Regions from separate parts of the Homo sapiens genome. Here regions 1, 2 and 3 are each linked to region 4. The links are contacts of gene promoters, found by promoter capture Hi-C in human tissues and cell types (Jung and others, 2019). All regions are on one chromosome and are shown on one strand. Each heading gives the region's core, a stretch centred on a gene start or on the middle of the fragment in contact. The rest is flanking DNA. Distances are from core to core; before and after follow the strand shown. Region 1 overlaps SBF2 (SET binding factor 2). Region 2 overlaps SBF2 (SET binding factor 2). Region 3 overlaps SBF2 (SET binding factor 2). Region 4 holds the start of SBF2 (SET binding factor 2).

Region 1 (4,977 bases), core at 968-3,467, 240 kb after region 4:
CAGTGTTTAGTCAGTTTGTATGTATTCTCTAGGCAGACAATCATATTATCTTACACGTAATGAAAGTTTTATTGTGGTGAGGACAATGCAAATGTTGTATAGTAGTAATAAAATATCTGGATGTAAATTTTTACCAAAAGCAATATAGGTGACCCATTTCAGTTAAGTTTCCATTTTAAGCAAATAATTTTGGATAGTCCCTTTTAAGTATATACTTTATCAAAAGCTGCTTATTAAAATTGGGCCTATATGTGACATGCATTATTCTGTAAAAACAAAATGTTTGAGATGTCACAAACTCTTAAATTGACTTCTCTTCCAAAGTCTTCTGCCCACTATATTTTCTCTGAACTTTTTTTTTTTTTGGTGGAAGAACAGAATCTCACTCTGTCACCCAGGCTCAAGTGCAGTGTCATGATCACAGCTCTCTGCACCCTCAACCTCCCAGGCTCAAGCAATCCTCCTACCCCAGCCTTCTGAGTAGTTGGTACTACAGGTGCATGCCACTACTCTTGGTTAATTTTTTTTTTTTTTTCCGAGACAAGGTCTCACTCTTCACCAAGGCTGAAGTGTGGTGGTGCGATCTCAGCTCATTGCAGCCTCTTATGCCTAGGCTCAAGTGGTCCTCTGGCCTCAGCCTCCCAAATTGCTGGGATTACAGGCATGAGCCACCAGGCTGGGTCTTTTTTCAAACTTTTGAAGAATATCTATATAATGTTCAGAGCACACATCTGACACTGCCCTGGCCTGGCTTGGCACAGACTTCAGTCTCCTAAAGCTTCTGTTACTTTATTCACAAATCAGTTCTTCTTTGGTCAGAATATAGTTTATAATAACAGTTCTTTGTTATCACTTCTTTTCTGTCCTCTTTAGAAATGTATCAGGAAAAACAAAACAATTTTGGGGTTGCTTAACCTTTAAAAAGGAATTCAAGGATAATTAAACATTTTTGTGCTCAACTTGTGCATGCTCTAGAAAACCAGTTCTATTTCCCTGAGAAAATAAAAAGACATATCTGGAAATATTTATATAGTACTATGCTTATTTCAGCATTAATTATAAAAAATTATAAACATCTTAACCAACAATAGGGAATTGGTTATGATATTTTATCTATATCTACATGATGGTATAATATTCAGTTATTAAAAATAATTATGTTAAAAATATATAAATACATGGGAAAATACATGTTATAGGAAGGGGAGAAAAACAGGATTCATAACTATATATACAATATGCCCTCCTTTGGATAAATACACACACACACATACATACATACATGCATACCTTCAGAGATAAATGGTTGCTAGGAAATGTTACATGTTACAAAATTTATTTCACTTTCATTTTATTTCTTAAGTTTTTCTGCCATGTATTTATATTAGCATAAAACAATATGCATAAGGTGATTTATGAAGGTAATTTAGAAGTGAAAGAACACGGTTTATAGAAATGCAGAGACTTGGATTCTAGTCCTGCCAGTGCCACAAACTCTTTATGACCTTAATGTCTAACAGTCTTGGTTTCATTGTTTGTAGAATGAGTCTTGTGAGATATGGTTATATATAAAATATCTTACAAACCTGAGAGATTATTATATTAGCACGTACCTTTTATTTGCAGATGGATGGCCTATTTGCAAGTTATCTACTTCATACATTTGGGCAATTAAACAAACAAGCAAGTAAACAAAGCGGGTGTTTGTAATGCATTAACATATAGAGTTTAGCAATGTCTAACAATTCCAGCCTTGCAAACTTGAAGTATAATTTGCTTATAGGTTATACTAAGTTCTTAAAGAAAACTAGAGATAAACAAAGACAGAAGAACATCCTGAAAAGGATTCCCACATTGCCTGTTCCCAGATACGTTGTTAACATTTTTATGGGCATGGTATGTGTGAAATGGTGAAGTCAAGGTAGAAGGGAGTTGTCAAAAACAAGTCGTTGCTCATACACTCATGCAGGTATCAAAACGGTATTGTGAGATTATGTGGTATGTTTTGCCATTACAAATATATGTGTTTTCTCAGTGACTTGAAAAAAGGAGGGCACAGTGTTAGGTCAGTCTGTTATGACAGTCGATTCTAAACATTTTGGGTTTTGCACCTGTGATAGCTTTTTTTTTTTCCTGTTTGCCTATAAAGACACTGGGGAGAGAAAAATCCTGATTTTTATCCTGTTTGTATAATGCTTATCATCCTGCTTACTATCTTTTAGTGACTACTCTCCAGCTGTCTAAACATTTTCCTCACATTCCTGTCAGAAGTGTGACTTAAACCCAGGTTCAAGAATTGTAATGTCCACATCCTCATTGTTTATTTCTCTAACACATTTTTAGTTAAGAATGGAAAAGACTAAACCAGCTAGCATTGTTATATTTGAAATCCAAATTCTATGAGGAGTACTTCTCATTAAATTGTGAGTTTGTATTCTGATACTCCCAAATCTATTATTGCTTAATCTTATGATACAGTGAATTTGAAAAAGACTCATTTAACTGCAGGTTAGGGTCATTTCTTTTCATCCTTTGAGAAAGAATTTTTGTAAACTGTGTAACATAGACTATGTCTATGTTACTGTATTTTATTTGAGAATATAGAATTCAAAATTTCCTATAAACTATGATTCTAATGGTATTTTTAAATGCACAATATATTTAATGTCATTTACGTGTGAAATAGAGGATCTCATACGTAACCAGTGTCTAGTTAACTATCTTAACAACCTCTTTGTGAAAAATTTAGTAAAAAAAATCTGACCAGGCCAACCATTAATTACTATACTATTTGAGCTGTGGTCACATTAAGCTGAGTTTTGAAGAAGTCTATTGGATTTGAAAATTGATCCTTGGAATTTCCCAAAAGTTTTAAGGGTAATACTTTTTTAATCACAGAATTATTCTTATAGTGTAAACTAACATATTTATGAGGCTATTTAAGTAACTAAGGTGGTCTTACTATCTAAACTCTCACATTCTTTTTCTCGATGTTATATGTTTATTATTTTCTATTAGGAGAAGGAATTTTCTTACAGGCTTTTTAAAAAGAGACACATTTAATTTAAATGTTATACATTAAAACATGGCTCAATAGCTAAACATTTATGGATGCAGATGAAGGTCTTGGGAAATATTGAAACCTATAATATTTCACCTTCAAGAGATCATTCAATTTAATCACAGTGCTATGGACATTTTTGTTATTCTGGTATATTTCTCTTATATTGTCTATATGTGCAAAGCATTTGAGAAAAATGGGCACATTAATAGTTATTTTTTCTAGTTTCAGGCAGCAAAATATCTGACTGCTCATTTAATAGATCTGCTGTAGTTTCCCCCTTACCCATGGTTTTGCTTTCTGTGGTTTTATTTACCCATGGTCAACTGAGGTCCAAAAATATTAAATGGAAAATTCCAGAAACAATTCATTGGTTTTAAATTATGCACCATCTGAGTAGTATGATGAAATCTCACACCATCCCACCTGGGATATGCATCATCCCTTTGTCCAGCTTATCCACACTGTATACACTATGCACCCATTAGTCACTTAGTAGCCATCTTATCTGATTTACCATCAGAAGGTCAATAGTAGCCTATAGCTATGTCACAATGTTTATGTCATTCACCTTTCATCTCATCACAGAGGCATTAAATCATCTCACATTATCATAAGAAGGGCAAGTATAATACAATAATACATTTTGAGAGAGACCCCATTCATATAACTTTTATTATAGTCTAATATCATAATTGTTATATTTTATTATTAGTTATTGTTCATCTCTTACTATGTATAACTTATAAACTAAACATCATTGTTATGTATGTATAGGAAAAAACATAGTACATATAGGGTTCCATATACATACATACATAGTACATACAGGGTTCGGTATTATCCACAGTTTTAGGTAACCACTGTGGGATCTTGAACATATCCTCCATGGATAAGAGGGGACTTATATGCCTATATGTATATGGTTATAAAAAGTTGCATTGTTATTTCTGTTAGGTAACTTCAATTTGAGAAGTCAAATATATTTGGTAGAATTAGAACTAAAATGAAGGGATTTTGTTTGTCCTTATTGAAAACCTGTAGTTTCTTTAAAGATGTGAAAATATGCAGTCATCATTCTCTAGTGTATGTTTTTTAGTACCATTTACCAAGCCTAGTGATTAGCTAATGATATGAATGACAGACTTCTATGAGAATGGGATTATTTGCTGTTAATTCACAGAACTGATTCACTTTTTATCAGAGGGGCAGTTTGTGGTGGTGGTAGAACTGATGATGCAGGCTGTATCGTTACATTATGTTATAACCTAAGCTCACATACTTCCTTCCTGATTCTGAGGCTCATTTTAGAAAATGATGTACCTTATTCACGAAAGAAGTTTGTTGAGAGAAAGTAAAAGGATTTTGAAAGATATTTTTGGCTTTTATTGTAGCCTGATAAAACTTTCCAGTTCTACCAAGGATTATACCGTTCTGCTACCCAAGTAGTTTAAGCCAAGGATAGTTACATGTTAACACCCATTCTCATTAAAATAGCAGTTCCCATACTTTTAGTCTCAGTACCCTTTATACTGTCACAAATTATTGAGAATTCTAAAAGAGTTTTATGTGGTTTTATCAATTCATTTATATATTAGAAATTACAACTAATTTTTTTTTTTAAGATGGAGTCTCTCTCTTGTTGCCCAGGCTGGAGTGCAATAGCGCGATCTTTGCTCACTGCAACATCCGCCTCCCAGGTTCAAGCGATTCTTCTGTCTCAGCCTCCCAAGTAGCTGACATTGCAGATATGTGCCACCACACCCAGCTAATTTTTATATTTTCAGTAGAAGTGGGGTTTCACCATGTTGGCCAGGCTGGTCTCAAACTTCTGACCTCAAGTGATCCACTCACTTCAGCCTCCCAAAGTGCTGGGGTTACAGGCGTGAGCCATCGCACCCAGCCACAACTAAAAT
Region 2 (4,811 bases), core at 1,151-3,650, 180 kb after region 4:
ACTAGCCCTGCATACCTCTGCCTTGTAGCTAAGTCTTAAGGCTTTATCCCATCCTCCTTACCATGTGGTGGTGGGAGGGGGATATATCTTTCCTTTAACAGTGTTAAGACTTCATACATAAATGTCCCTGGGAGAAATAAAAAATGTTCCTCAAGTCATATTAAATCCTTTCTTAAGAGCAGAATTGGATTGAAAGAATATAGAAAAAGGAGAGATTGGAGAGATTTCAAAGACAGAAGCAGGCTGTCTTAGATGGAAGAAGCAAACCAGTCTTACTTGAAAGTTTTGTCTCTCATCTAATTGTATTTCAACCATTACCTATCTATGCATTATCTTCTGAGTGCTGATCCCGTATTTCTGACTGGATGTTATTATGTGGATGTTTCTTAACATCACTAATCATTAGAGAAATGCAAATTAAAACCACAATGAGATGTCACACCGCACCCATTAGGTTGGATACTATTAAACAAACAAACAAACAAAAAACAGGCGGGGCGTGATGGCTCAAGCCTGTAATCCCAGCACTTTGGGAGGCCGAGGCAGGTAGATAACTTGAGGACAGGAGTTCGAGACCAGCCTTGCCAACGTGGTGGAACCTCGTCTCTACCAAAAATATAAAAAATTAGCCGGGCATGGCTGGGCACGGTAGCTCACGCCTGCTAGCTCCCAGCACTTTGGGAGGCCGAGGCAGGTGGATCACAAGGTCAGGAGTTCGAGACCAGCCTAATCAACATGGTGAAACCCCATCTCTACTAAAAATACAAAAATTAGCTGGGCGTGGTGGCACACGCCTGTAATCCCAGCTACTCAGGAGGCTGAAGCAGGAGAATCGCTTGAACCCGGAGGCGGAGGTTGCAGTGAGCTGAGATCACGCCACTGCACTCCAGCCTGGGTGACAGAGCGAGACTCTGTCTCAAAAAAAACAGAAGAAAAAACAAACAGAAAACAACAAGTGTTACTGAGGATGTGGATTAAATTAGACCCTTTTGCCCTATTAGCAGGAATGTAACATGGTACAGCCATTGTGGGAAACAGTATGAAGGGTCCTTAAAAAATTAAAACTAAAAATTAAAAAAATTATATTTACTGAATGATTCAACAATTCCACTTTTGGGTGTACTTCCAGAAGAACTTCAAGGAGAATTGCAAAGATATTTGCACACCCATATTCATTGCAGCATTATTTACTGCAGCCAAGAAGTAGAAGCAACCCAGATGTCTGTCAGTAGAATAAAGAAAATGTGGTATATACATTCAATAGAATATTATCCAGCCTTAAAAAAGAAGAAAATCCTATTACATGCTATAACATGGATAAACCATGAGAACATTATGCTGTGTGAAACAAGCCAGTCATGAGAAGACACATACTTAATAATTTCATTTATAACAGGTCTCTAAAGTAGTCAAACTCATAGAATCAGGAAGTAGAATGGGATTGCCAGGGGCTAGGGGAAGGGAAAATGGGGAGTTGTTCAGTGGGTATAGAGTTTCAGTTTTGCAGGATGAAAAAGTTCTAGAGATCTGTTGCACAACAGTGTACACATAGTTAACACTACTGAACTATACATTTACCAATGGATGAGATGATAAATTTTATGTTTTTACCATAATTAGAAAATTTAAAATATTGATTCTAAGGCCCGACTGCCAAGATATTCTGATTTATACAATTTGAGATGGAGTCTTGATATTGCAAAATTTAAAAAGCCTCCCAGGTTGATTCCACAGCACAGAGTTGAGAAACACTGAAATAAACATAAAAACATAAGTAATTGTAACCACAAGATATTAGGTAGGTGGTTTTTTTATGACCCTATAAATAATTTTATCCCAGGAGATTAAACATTCTTTGGTTCACATACTGTCGGACTCCAATTTACTAAGCAATTATTTATTAATTTAGCCATCAGAGTTTAAAACAGAGAATCACTTTAATAAATGAAGAAATAATGTGAAAACAGACATGTCAGGTTCTCTTATCAATGACTTTGACCAGTGTATACAAGATAACAGCATATCACTTGGTTAAGAACTTTTGAATCTATTTTTGACCTTGCAGTGGCCTAAGAACAGTTAAATGAACATTTATTTAACTTAAACTTTTGCTTTGGGAGATTAAGTACAGTTCAACTGGAATAGTGTTTGTTGCTTATGCCTTTATTGTTTTTATCTGTATATCTCTTTAATTCTTTTCTGGATTTTTTCAGAAAAATTGTCTCTACTTTATTCTTTATACTAGTATTTACTCATGAGAATCATAAATGGTAAATATAGTCCATGGGAAAAACAAGCGGAACAGGAAGTACTAAGACAAGCTTTGTCATATAAAGTTTTAGAAAACATGGTACAAACTGGAGACTTGGACAAAGTGGCAGACTTAGTAAAATATATTAATTAGTAATGTAACTACCATTTAAATATTCTGAGTATGGAATTTCCACCTTAAATATTTGATCCTATAAAACTGTTTTTTTCAAACATTGTTCTACCCTGAGAATTGCAAAATATCTACTGGCAGGATATGAACTTGGAACAGCAGATTGTTCTTTTTTTAGTAGCCTTTTTCCTGCAGATGTGACTTTAACAGAGGAAGATGCTGAGTGTTTTTTTTTTGTTTGTTTGTTTGTTTAGTTTTGTTTTTTTTTTTTCTTCCAGTACTTCAGGTGATCAGCAGAATAAAGACAATAGTTATTTGCTAAATGAACCTTAGGTAATTTAGAGATAGAGGGTGTATACCATTTAAAAATGTTTGAGATTTTCTAATGTTCTTACTAAATTGCTTATTTTCTTTGAAATTCCTCTAGGGAAATTTTAGAAATTTTAACTCATTCAATTATGTCATCTCTGATTTTGGGGGGAACAGGTACATTACATCTTCTAAAATTGGAGATGGAAAATGGATGGTAGCAATTTTTACATCTGATTATCACATGACATTAGAAAGAGGATATATGGTACAACCAAATATTATTTATTATAGAATTTAAATTCTTTGTAAATATTTTCTGCTTACATATGTTTGAAATGTATACCTCTGACCATATTTTAAAATTTGATACTAAGCCAGAATTAAATTACTTTGGGCAAAATTTGATAAATATTACTTGTAATTTTAAAATAAAGATTAATACCCTGGTGAATTTGACCCAGACTTACATATATGTATGCTTATGGATCTTATTCTGCCTGACACTTGACTTTTTGCGTTTTTTCTTTGTTGTACTTTAGTCCCTGTCGTAATCTGGAATGCAAAAAGAACTTCCAGGAAGGACATAAGTATTACTTTAAAAATGTACAAATAGGAATAGAGTCATCAGTCAGTGACTAAGGATAGCTGAACTCAATTTGCTGATGTTTAAATTGTCTAATGTCCTGTCTTTCAGAGAGAACAACATTTGGCCTTCAAATATCTGGGATTGTGGGTGAGGTGAAAGGAAAGGTGAATTCTAATAATGAATCAAGGCAGGAACTGAAGGAGGCTTTGTTTGTTTCTTTAACTTGTTTTGTAATAAGATCAGTTGTTTCAGTGAATAACCAAGTTGTAGTGACATGAAGAATTGCACGTTGCTTGTGAGATGCAGAATGACATAGAAACTGCCAAGATTCTTTTCATTTATCATGAATTCCAGAGAAAGAACTTTTGACCAAAAGTATCACATTCTTTGTTTTAACAAAAAAACTGAACAGTATTAATTCCTTAGAGAATACAGCATTCCAGCTTTACTTGAAATCCCAAATGGAGTCATATTGCATAAGTATAACCAGAAAAAAAAAAAACCCAACAACATGGAAATAGCACCCAAGAGAGACTCTTAAGGCTGCTTTCCCAAGTTCAAATATATCTTTGTGTCTCTAAGCAAATCCATAATTAATCCTCCCCATCTCCCCTGCTCCCAATAATCACACCTAATTTGTATTTATGTGAACTTACACTTGAAAGTTCATAAACTTTCAGTCTGATCAGGAAAGAGGAATGTCAGTGGATCAACATGCAATAAACAGAAATGTGTAATGGGTCCCATTTGTGATTTTAATTTTTATATTAAGCTAGCTGAAAAGCAAAATAGGACACAGGATTTGATACATATCTTTTTTTTTTTTTTTTTTTTTGAGTTGGATTCTCACTCTGTCGCCCAGGCTGGAGTGCAATGGTGCCATCTTGACTCACTGCAACCCCCACCTCCTGGGTTCAAGCAGTTCTCCTGCCTCAGCCTCCCGAGTAGCTGGGATTGCAGGTGTGCACTACCACACCTGGCTAATTTTTGTATTTTTAGTAGACACGGGGTTTCTCCATGTTGGCCAGGCTGGTCTCGAACTCCTAACCTCAAGTGATTCACCTGCCTCAGCCTCCTGAAGTGCTGGGATTACAGGCGTGAGCCACCACGCCCGGCCTGATACATATCTTTTGTTTTGCTCCTTACTTCATGTATCAGTACTATGAAAGTAAAAGATCACTAACCTGGTTTTTTGACTAGCTTGAAATATTTATCTCTTTGATCTGGGCACTTCACTTAATTACTCTGAGATTTAGTTTTCTATCTTTACAATCTCTTTTCTTTTTAATAGAATTTCCTCTAATGAAAAAGAGAAATGATCAATAATGTTTTCCATATTCAACATAAATTTGGAAAAAGTAATAGTTTTGAAACCAAGAATAGACAAATGCCATGGGTAACTTACATAACAATGTCTCTAGCTATAAATAGGAGCTCAAAATGACGTAGATTAAGACTTGAATGGGCCTGAAGGCTAGGCAGGGTTTTTCCTGCTAGTAAGAGGGTGACACAGGAAGTGAGGACCAAGGC
Region 3 (5,274 bases), core at 2,100-4,599, 190 kb after region 4:
TTATTAGTGCATCTTTAATGCTAAAGCTAGTTTTTAAATAAAATTTTATAAATCCATCCACTTTTTATTAGTTTTACCATAAGGTAAGATTTTCATAAACTTTTTAGATCTCTTTATAATTTTCTGTTAAACAGCAGATAAATTTTCTAAGAAAACCCTGTTACTCAGACACATGGGCCCAGACTGTGGCCCCATATCAGTGTGCTTTTATTTTAATGTTCAACCTGCAGAAAAAAATAATACCCTTCAAACCTTAGCCAACTTGCTTATACCCCCAGAACTTTTTTTACAGGATCAACCCTTCACACACCCTTTTCAACCTGCTTAAACTTTCAGTTTTGTCCCATTACTCTTTTAGGTTGAGACAATCTTTAAAACCCTCTGAACTACACAAAATTACATTGTCTTTCACGAAAACCATATCCCCATGCCTTCTTTTGATCTCCCAGCAAAACCATATTCTACTTTTTCCTTCTATACCTTGCAACCTTGTATGTCAAGCTGTTTCTCCAGTAGTCTCAATTACATGTTACAGTGTTTAACTCTTAGCAACTTTTATTTTTGATGAAAAAGCTGATAAATAAGTGATTTTAATTATGTACTAGGTGTGGAGCCTAAGACATCAGACAGAAGTGCAGATGAGGTCTTACTCTTTCCAGCATAGCTGGGGAGCCAGGCTAACTCCACATGTTCCCAGGCCTTATCTAGAATCTAATGCTCCAAATTAGGTAAACTGAACAATTTTCAAAAGTCAAAGAAGCAGTTTATGACTTTAAAGCATTTAGCAAATCTGATACCTGACCTTAATTTAGACCAAATGTCTAAATTTGGAGGACTTTTAATTTTACCAGTAGTCTTTAAAACTGTCTTTATTCCCAGAAAATTACTAAAATCACGTGTCTTCTGGATGGTGGAAACCAAGAGAGAGTATCACCACATGGTCACAAGGTTAAGCTCTTAAGGACATAAAACAAGACAAAGTTTCATCTAGTATTGGTTTCAGGGACCCCTAGCAAAGTTTGTAACTGACCAGCCTGCCAGGCTGGCTTGAAAGGTAGGCTTATAGGGGTCCTAAACCCATGTTCTATCCTGTGATACCTCTCTCTCCATTACAGAACGACACTGAAAGACATTCTTAGCACAAAGCGCACCAGATTTGCTGCAGCCTAAGACTAGTCTCACAAATCCTTTTTTTCTATTAATTAAACCCTTGCAGAGGAGATAAATATTGACATTTACCATGTACACACACACACACACACACACACACACACACAGAGCGAGAGAGAGAGACACACCAGAAACTTTTGACTGGTAAGAATTTCTTACCCTTTTTGCCGGCATACCAGGTTTCCGGGTTCCATTTCACTGCAGCTTCCAGAAAAATGGAGCGGTTTTTGATGACCCTGCTTACTGTGGCATAGCTGTGGGGGTCAAGCCACTTTACAAAAGGAAATCACCCTTTTCTGTTTTATGGAACTATTGGCAAAAGATTCTCAATTTTGCAAGATGCTGCCCAACAGACTGTGTGGGGAACTGAGTTAACATTTTCCATCCCAGCCAAAGCAAAATACATATAACAAAACAGACACTAGTCAACTCATTCAGCACCCAGTATTAAACTGGCAAGGCTCAGCTTTCTCCTGTTGGTCCCTGTTGCCTTTGATTCACTCCAGGCGGGGAGGGATGACCTCCGAATGGTAATTCATTGGGTAGTTGCTGGGTAAGACGAAGAGTGGATAGTCTCCCCGAGTCAGGCCTGTTGAGCTTCCTTCAGGGCTCACCGAATGTGACCAGACAAATAAGGAGGGTTCTCTGAGTTAGGCCTGCTGAACTTGTGCCAGCAATTCCTCCAGAGATTCCCTTCACATAAACAAACACACACACAAAGACACGATAGGCAGAAGGCCTTCCAAATCCAGATCCCTAACCAAGAACTCCGAGAGTATCCTTTCTAAACTATTCTATTTTCCGTCTGAGAAATCTCCCTGAAATCTTCCTGATTTAGATGTCTGCTGAACCAAGACTCCTCCTACTAATTAGGGAGAGCCAACTGAGACCCCCAAAGGGGCTGAACCAAGACAGACACCCTGCAGTGGAGCTACAGACACCTCCACACAAGGCTACAGGAAAACCAAGACCCCTGATGGAGCCAAACCAAGACAGACACCATGCAGTGGGGCTACAGACGGATACTCCACCATGGGGCTACAGAAAAACCAACACCCCTGAAGGATCCAAACTGATCAGGAGAAGGAAGGAGGTGTGGGCAGTACCTAGGATACTCACCAAACCAGATACCTCATAGTGGGGCTACAGCTATAAGCACTCCATGACCAGGCTACAGACATATACCCTGCCATGGAGCTACAGACAGACACCCTGTGGTAGGGCTACAGTTATGGGACGTCTCCCCAGGACTGTTTCTCTATTGCAGTTAAATTCATGCACATTGGATTGGCAGCACCCTGCCAGTAGAGAGATTGCCAGAATCAGCCCCCAGTCCAAGACAACTGTGGCCGCTTGGGCTGGCCTTTGGATCCATCACCAGAGAGGGGGCTACTGAACCACAGGCAGGCAGCCACAAGGGCAATCCCAGACGAGCCTCCAAATTTGTAACTGCCCAACAGGTTCACCCTGCCCGCTGCCTAGGCAGAGCCAATTTATCAAGATGGGTGAATTCCAGTAGAGAAAGAGTAATTAACACAGAGCCAGTTTTGCAGGAGATTGGAGTTTTATAATTACTCAAATCTGTCTCCTTGGTTTCCATTTTTACAAAATGCCTTTTTCCATCCCCTTTTAGCCTATGTGTGTTTATAAAGTTAAAATGAGTCTTTTGTTGGCAGCATATAGTTGGGTCTTGTTTTATTATTGATTCACCCACTTTGTCTTTTTATTGAAGAACTTAGTTTCATTTGCAATTTAAAGTAATTATTGATAGATAAGAACTTAGTATTGCCATTTTTTAAAATTTTTTTCCTGCTGCTTTGTAGGTCCTTTGATTCTTTCTTCCTCTTTTGTGTTTTTCATTGTAACTTTATTTTTTTATAGTGGCATACTTTGATTTCTTTCTATTTGTTGTTTCTCTTTGTTTCTATTAGAGGTGTGTGTGTGTGTTTGGTTTTCATAAGACATATCAAACATTTTATAGTTTTAACAGTCTTTTTTAAACTGATAACATCTTAAATTCCCTCACATACAAAAACTCTGCACTTTTATTCCCCCCACCCCAACAGTTTGTTATCGATGTCACAATGTACAACTTTTTATCTTAATATACTTAACAAATTATTATGGCTATAGTCACTTTAATAGTTGTCTTTAAGCCTTTGTACCAGAGTTAAAAATGATTTGTGTATCATCGTTATAGTGTAATATTCTGACACTGACTATCTACTTACCTTTACCAGTTAGTTTTATACCTTCATGTTTTCAGGTTATTAATTAGAATAGTTTTGTTTCAGGTTAAAGAACCCCCTTTAGCATTTCTTGTAAGGCAGGTTTACTGTTTTTGAACTCCCTTAGCTTTTGTTTGGGAAAGTTTTTAATCTCTCTTTCATTTCTGAAAAACATTTTTGCTAGTTATAGTATTCTTGGTTCACATGGTTTTTTTCAGCCCTTTGAATATATTATCCCTTTCTTCTGGTCCGTAACATTTTTAGGGAGAAGCTTGTGGATAGGCTAATTGGTGTTTCTTTGTCTCTGATGAGTCAGTTTTCTAATGCTCCTTTCAAAGTCTTACTTTGTCTTTAACTTCTGGTAATTTGATTAGCACATGTCTTAGTGTAATTTTCTTTGGATTGGTCTTGATTTTTTGAGCTTCATGAACATGGAAGTCCATATCTCTCTCAAGATTTGGATAGTTTTAAGGCATTATTTATCTAAAGAAGCCTTTTGCTTCTTTCTTTTTGTCTTCTTTTTCTGGGACTTCTATCATGCATATTTTGGTTTGGTTCATTTTGTCCCATAAATCCTTTTTGTCTTCTTTTTCTGAGACTTCTATCATGCATATTTTGGTTTGGTTCATTTTGTCTCATAAATCCTGCAGGCTTTCCTCACTCTTTTTCATTCTTTTTTTTTCTTTTTCTCCTCTGACTGGAAATCAAATGACCTGTTTTTGAGTTTGTAGATTCTTTCTTTTCTTTATCAAGTCTGATATTGAAGTTGGCCGTTACATTTTTATTTCATTTATGGTGTTCTTCAGCTCCAGAATTTCGTGTGTGTGTGTGTGTGTGTGTGTGTGTGTGTGTGTGTGTGCATTTTTTGTCTTTGTTGATTGTATTTTGTTGATATATTGTTTTTCTGGTTGCATCGAGTTGTCTGTGACCTCTTGTAGCTTGTTAAACAATTATTATGAGTTCTTTGTCAGGCAATTCATAGATCTCCATTTCTTTGGTGTTAGTTACTAGAAATTTACTTTGTTTCTTTGGTGGTATCATATTTCTTTGTTTTTTTTTTTTTAATTTTCCTTGAAGCCTTGCCTTGCCATCTTCACATTCAAAGAAGATGTTATCTTCTTTGCTCTGTAGTGACTGGCTTCAGGAGAAAAGACTTCACCAGTCAGCTGAGGTGGGGATTCTGGAGGTCCTTCAGACCTTTTCTGTGGATATAACTACTCTACTTCTTCCCTTTTTCAGGGAAGAAATCTTAGGTTTACATTCCTTCTCTCAATCCTGCAAAGGTAGGTCCATTGTTGAGAGCCTCCTTTAATTTTCTCTACGGTAGTGTCCTGAAATGTTCAGAATCAAACCAAGTCTGTGGATGCTTGTATGTATTGTCTGCAGGGGCACATATAGGGTGCCATGTACAGGAGAGAGGGGTGCATGGTATGTTAGGGGAACATATAGCCTAGTTGGCAGATGGGACCATAGGTGAGATGTTCTTGGGAATACCTCTTGGTGGAGTGTGGGAGGCATTTAGCAGAAACCATGGTGCTTTGTTGCGTTCTGTGCCCTAGTTGTTTTGAGTCCCCACCCTTTTCTCCTGTTTCTAGCTTCTCCTCCGAGTCTTCTGTGTGTTGTCGGTGGGGTGAGAAAGAAGTAGGCCTCTTAGGCAGTGACTCTCAGAGCTGTAGAAGACAGGAACTCACTATGCTTTTACTTTCCTTTGTGAGACAGATCCAAGGCTGATTGGATCTCTCTTGGCACTGGGCTGTGCGGCTTTAGGGGAGGGATGAAGAAATAGCTAAAGTGAAATTGTTCTTACCCTTTTCAATGCATCTATTTATTTAAGCTTTTTTTCTACTGGGGTGTTGGCCATATCTGCTGGACTTTT
Region 4 (5,244 bases), core at 828-3,327:
ACAGTCTAACACAATATACAATGGAATATTATTGAGTCATAAAAAATAATGAAGTATTGATACTTCAATGTGATGCTACAACCTTGTACTGTATCTGCCCGTAAACAAGCTGAGAACAATATACTAAGTGAGAAAAACCAAGACACAAAAAACCCACATATTGTATGATATGAATATGAAATATTCATAATAGGTAAATCCATAGAGACAGAAAGCAAAATGGTGATTGCCAGGGGCTGTGGGAGGGGAGAATGAGAATGACTGCTTAATGGTTGTGAGGTTTTCTTTTGGGTGATGAAAATGTTTTGTAACTAGATAGACATGGTAGTTGTACAGCATTGGGAATGTACTTAATTGCCACTGAATTCTACATTTTCAAGTGGCTAATTTTACAATATGTGAATTTTGCCCTATTTTTAGAAAAGTTGGGAAGGAATATGATAGCTGCCTTAAAAATCTATCATATGAAGATAGATTTTTTTTTTCTGGATAGTTCCGGAGAGCAGAATCAGGGGAAGTTACAGTAAGACAACTCTGAAATAATAAGGAAGAACTTTCTAACAATAGGGCTGTTAAACAGTGGAATGCGCTGCCTCCCAAGGAAGTAAGATTACTTTTTACTGAAAGTGATCAAGTTGGATGATGAGCTCTCAGGGAAGTTACAGAGAGGATTGCTGCACGGGGTATGACTGAGGTTTTTTTTTTTTTGGTTTAATTATTTTCAGGATCAAACTATCTTCCCTCCACGTTTGCAAATTCAGCTGATTCAGTTTTACCATTAGCAACTGACATAGAGGTCCTGGAGTTAAAGTATTCCTTCAGTTTCAGTTCTAGTGCAGCCCAACCCTCCCAATTTGTAGATGAAACAAGTGTGGCAGAGAAAGGGGAAATAGTAAATTACAGCAGAGTAAATCTTCAGGAGCTGAGATGTCAACTCTCTCAGTTCAGAGTTGGAGCCATTGCGGCTTCCTGCTGGTCGTTGGGGAAAATCGCACATTTACTCATTTAAAATATTTTGTAGGCACCTACTATATACTAGACGCTTTGCTAAGAGGCCTTGTCTTATGTGTAAATATGAAGGATCAAACCCTCAATTAATAGTGAGCAGTGATAAGCAACCACAAAGACAACTTCTAAACCACGGAGATTTCCAAAACTTTGGTCTACCACTTGTACAAATTCTACTAAAACTTCGTGAGATATTAACAAATGACAAAGTGAGTTCACCTGAATGTCACACCAGCCAAATTCGAAATGGTCAATAGGAGGTTCAACAAAAAAGCAAGCGACTTTGATAATCCCGAGACGGAAGGACGGGACCATCTATTCATTTTTGTGCATGTTTGAGCAGGGAAGTTGGAAGTCCACCTGCTCGGGCTGCGAGAGCCCTGGGACCGCTGCGAGGGAAGCAAGCCGAGGCGTGCGGGGCTCCCCAGGGAGAGGCCAGCCCAGTTCGGGAGGATCCCGGGGATGCCGCGTTCCTCGGTGGAATCTGGCTCTCCCGGGCGCTCCGGGGGAAGCCCAGGCCGACCGCCCCCGGCCCACCCGGCATTGAAACCCGAGGCTCCTTGGAGGATTGCGTAAAAGCCTCTCCCTCCCCCGTCTGCTCGGTGGCATGTTTCTAAAATTCCCATCTACACAACATAAACAGGAAACGTGCAGCAAAAGCCCTGTCGATGCAAATTCCTTGCTTCCAACCGAGGGCGGGAGAATTTCATCTTTGGTGGTGGTGGGGAGCAGAGGAAGCAGCCAGCTTTCCAAGTGACCCCTCAACTCTCCACATCCCTTCTTCCAAATCCAAACAGAATAGAGAAGGCGGAAGGAAGGACCCCCTGCTTTAGGAAAAATAGGGAGGCAGAGGGGGCCGTGAAGCAGCATCCAGGCCTCAAAGTGAACCACCTCCAGGGGCCGCGGTGGCGGCGCGTGGCGGGAACACGCCCGACCGCCCACTCCCCCAGCGCAGCAGTCCGCGAGGCCCGCGGAGGGTGGAGGTGGGCTCGCCGCCCGGGCTTGGGGCAGCCGAGCCAGCGCGGGTGGGGGCGGGGGAGGAGCGGGCACTAGGCGCCGCGCAAGCGCAGAGCGCGCCTCGGTTGTCAAACATGGCTGAAGCGCTGCCGCTGCCGCTACTGCCGCTGCAGGGAAAATGCTGAGCCCTCCCGGGCCGGGTGGGCGGCGGCGGCGAGGGCGGCGACGGGGACCCGCTTCCCGAGCGCGGCGGCGGCGGCCATGGCCCGGCTGGCTGACTACTTCATCGTGGTAGGCTATGACCACGAGAAGCCAGGTAAGGGTGTGGGGCGGCACCGCCCCCGGGCCTCCCCGCCCCCCGGCCGCTGTCCAGTGGGCTCCGCGGGGCCGGGCGTCGGGGACGGGCGTCGGGGAGGGCCAGGCCGAGTCTCGGAGGAGCGGGCGGTCGGCGTCCGGCCTTCTCGGCTGGGCTGAGCCTGGCGGTGGGCGTGGGGGGGCCGGCACGACGGTAGGGGGAGGGAAGACGCCGCGTCTGCCCAGCCCCTGGGCGCACCCGCTGGGCGGGCCGGAGGCGAGTTGGGGTCTCGCGACCCTCCCGCTGGAGGCTGCAGGGTACCCGGGGCAGAGAGAGCCCTGAGATTGGGCCCAGGACCGCAAGGCTGGGAGGGCGGGAGCCAACTGTGCTAAGTTCCTCGGGGATAAACTTCTGCCCTGCATCCTGAGTGAGTAACCAGTGACGCAGGGGGTTGTCCTCTCCGAAAGGAAGTGCTGAGAGTCCAGTGCTAACTCACCCCTGTGCTGTTGGGGGCCTAGTGACCTCCCCAAGGAACGCGTGGTACCAGGGAAGGGGACAGGATTCTTTGCACTTTTACCCCTTTCTAGGAAATGCTCCCTATTCTTTCAGGACAAATGTGACGGTCACTTCACAGTGACATGACTTGTCTTTTAACTAAGGACAGCCAGCTGACCGCTGAAGGTGATCTTGTTTCACTTTAATGTGTTTTCATTGTTCTTTTTATTTGTCACAGAATTTTCGTCGTAAGGAACAATTGGGCAAATGCATTGTATTTTACACTTTAATTGACGGACTTCCACAACTTAAGAGAATTCAGGGTTCATGCACGTTTATTTCTGTATTTGTATTCTCTTGTATTACTATGTAGCTAAGCATAATGTAATAACAAATTGAGCTGGGAAACCACTTCTATTTTAGGGCAATTCTAGTCCCACATTTGCAAGGAATTTGAGATATCAGCTCTACAGCCCCTTCATTTTTCAGAGATGCTGAGATTGTGTTTTCCTGATGGTTACAGCCATTGGTAGCTCAGAATACCATTGTTCTACCCACTCTTGGTCCACTCTCTCTTTCATTATTCCTCTCCTAAGAACTTCCTCTCCTTTAGTGGGAACCTTTCATGTTCTTTTCTCTTTCACCAGTCATGACCTGATTGAGGTCAATTGTTAAAGAGAAAGTTTAAATGTTTAAACTTCTGGATCCAAAATTTTATTTCCTAGTAATTTGGCATAGTCTGATGTTTCTTTTCTATCAAGATTAAGTGTGGGAAATCAGTTTTTTAACCTTTAGTTTTTAGTGACATTGTTCCGCCTCCCCCCCTCCCCACTTTTAAACAATTTTTTTTTTTTTTTTTTTTGAGACGGAGTTTTGCTCTGTTGCCCACGCTGGAGTGCAGTGGTGCGATCTTGGCTCACTGCAACCTCTGTCTCCCGGGTTGAAGCAATTCTCTGCCTCAGCCTCCGGAGTAGCTGGGATTTACAGGCGCCCGCCAACACGCCCGCTAATTTTTGTATTTGTAGTAGAGACGGGATTTCACCATCCTGGCCAGGCTGGTCTTGAACTCCTGATCTCGTGATCCACCGGCCTCGGCCTCCCAAAGTGCTGGGATTACAGGCTTGAGCCACCACGCCCGGCCAACAATGTTGAAACAATAACAGACTTGCAAAAAAGTTGCAAGAATGGTACAAAAAATTCTACCCGCCCCCCAACAATTTGAGAGGAAGCTGTTGACCTGATGCCCTGTCATCCCAGAATACTTTAATGTGCATTTTCTGCAAACAAGAATGTTCTCCTACATGATCACAGTGTAATAACCAAAACAGGAAATGGATAGTGATACAGTACTCCATCTAGTTCTCAGACTGGTTCAAGTTTTGTTGATTGTGCTAGTAATCTCTTTACTGGCAAAAGGATCCAGTTTAGCAATATGTGTTGCATTCATGTTATGTCTCTTTTGTCTCCCTCAATCTGGAACATTTCCTTTATCTTCTCCTGACTTTCATGACCTTAACATATTTAACAATTACAGGTCAGTCACTTTGTAGGCTGCCCCCTCAATTTGGGATTGTCTGTTCCTTCATGATTAGATACATACGAATATGCACGTGGGAAGGATATCACAGAAGTGATGCTCACTGCATCCTGTCAGGTGGTGCACAATTTCACTTTGTTTCATTGTTGGTTATTTTTACTTTGATTACTTGATATAAGTAATATCTGCGAGGCTTCTCCACTGTAAAGTTAATACTTAATTGTTTTTGCCATGTACTTTGAAACTATGTAAATATCTTGTTCCTCACTAAACTCTTAATCATTTATTGACATCTACATGGAGTCTGTGTGTGTGTGTGTGTGTGTGTGTGTGTGTGTGTGTGTGTTTAGTGGATTATATTCTGTTACTATTTGCCTTAGTCTATTCGGAAAAAGTCACTAGCCCACCTGCCCGAAGCACTGGCTTGAGTGGGAAATAGGAGAGTCTAAGCACATCCAGCCGAAGTGAGACCAGAAAGGGGAGCTCGCGGATTATATTCTGTTACTATTTGCCTTAGTCCATTCGGGCTGTTATAACAAAAATACCTCAAACTGGGTGGCTTATAAACAATAGAAATTTATTTTTCACAGTCTGGAGGCAGAGAAATCCAAGATGAAGACTCTGACAGATTCAGTGTCTGGTGAGGACATGCTTCCTCATAGCCATGTTCTCACTTTAACCTCATATGGCTTAAGGGTCAAATGAGCTCTCTGGGGTCTCTTTAAAAAGGGAACTAATCCCATTCACAAGGACTCCACCACCATGACCTGATCACTTCCTAAAGGCCTCACCTCATAATACCATCACTTTGGGTGTTAGGATTTTAACATACGAATTTTGGGAGGGGACATACACATTCAGACTATAGCATTATTTATTTTGATGTTCAAATTGTTCTTTATATGGCCAATGAGAGTTGTACAAGCTGGCTTCTGTGTTCTTATGGTACATC

Evidence for each region. Contacts are between HindIII fragments. The study calls those that stand out against the background at their distance.
Region 1: a contact is called between a fragment that was not itself captured here and the fragment with the promoter of SBF2 in region 4, in 1 of the 25 tissues and cell types used here (small bowel).
Region 2: a fragment that was not itself captured here is called in contact with the fragment with the promoter of SBF2 in region 4 in 1 of the 25 tissues and cell types used here (mesendoderm cells).
Region 3: a contact is called between a fragment that was not itself captured here and the fragment with the promoter of SBF2 in region 4, in 1 of the 25 tissues and cell types used here (H1 embryonic stem cells).

Annotation. Positions count from the first base shown.
Region 1 is chr11:10,049,314-10,054,290 of GRCh38, reverse strand. The region is part of intron 2 of SBF2 (SET binding factor 2); the gene reads left to right. Among named protein-coding and RNA genes, the nearest start is that of SBF2, 240 kb to the left of the region's middle. The HindIII fragment of the contact is 3,945 bases long and covers 245-4,189 here.
Region 2 is chr11:10,116,746-10,121,556 of GRCh38, reverse strand. The region is part of intron 2 of SBF2 (SET binding factor 2); the gene reads left to right. Among named protein-coding and RNA genes, the nearest start is that of SBF2, 180 kb to the left of the region's middle. The HindIII fragment of the contact is 4,654 bases long and covers 74-4,727 here.
Region 3 is chr11:10,097,663-10,102,936 of GRCh38, reverse strand. The region is part of intron 2 of SBF2 (SET binding factor 2); the gene reads left to right. Among named protein-coding and RNA genes, the nearest start is that of SBF2, 190 kb to the left of the region's middle. The HindIII fragment of the contact is 6,094 bases long and covers 303-5,274 here.
Region 4 is chr11:10,291,052-10,296,295 of GRCh38, reverse strand. It overlaps SBF2 (SET binding factor 2), which reads left to right and starts at 2,077. Exons shown (of 40, transcript NM_030962.4): 1 at 2,077-2,281. The coding sequence starts at 2,227. RefSeq lists silencers at 1,940-1,989, 2,110-2,389, 2,420-2,499, 2,540-2,679. The HindIII fragment of the contact is 12,564 bases long and covers 1-5,244 here.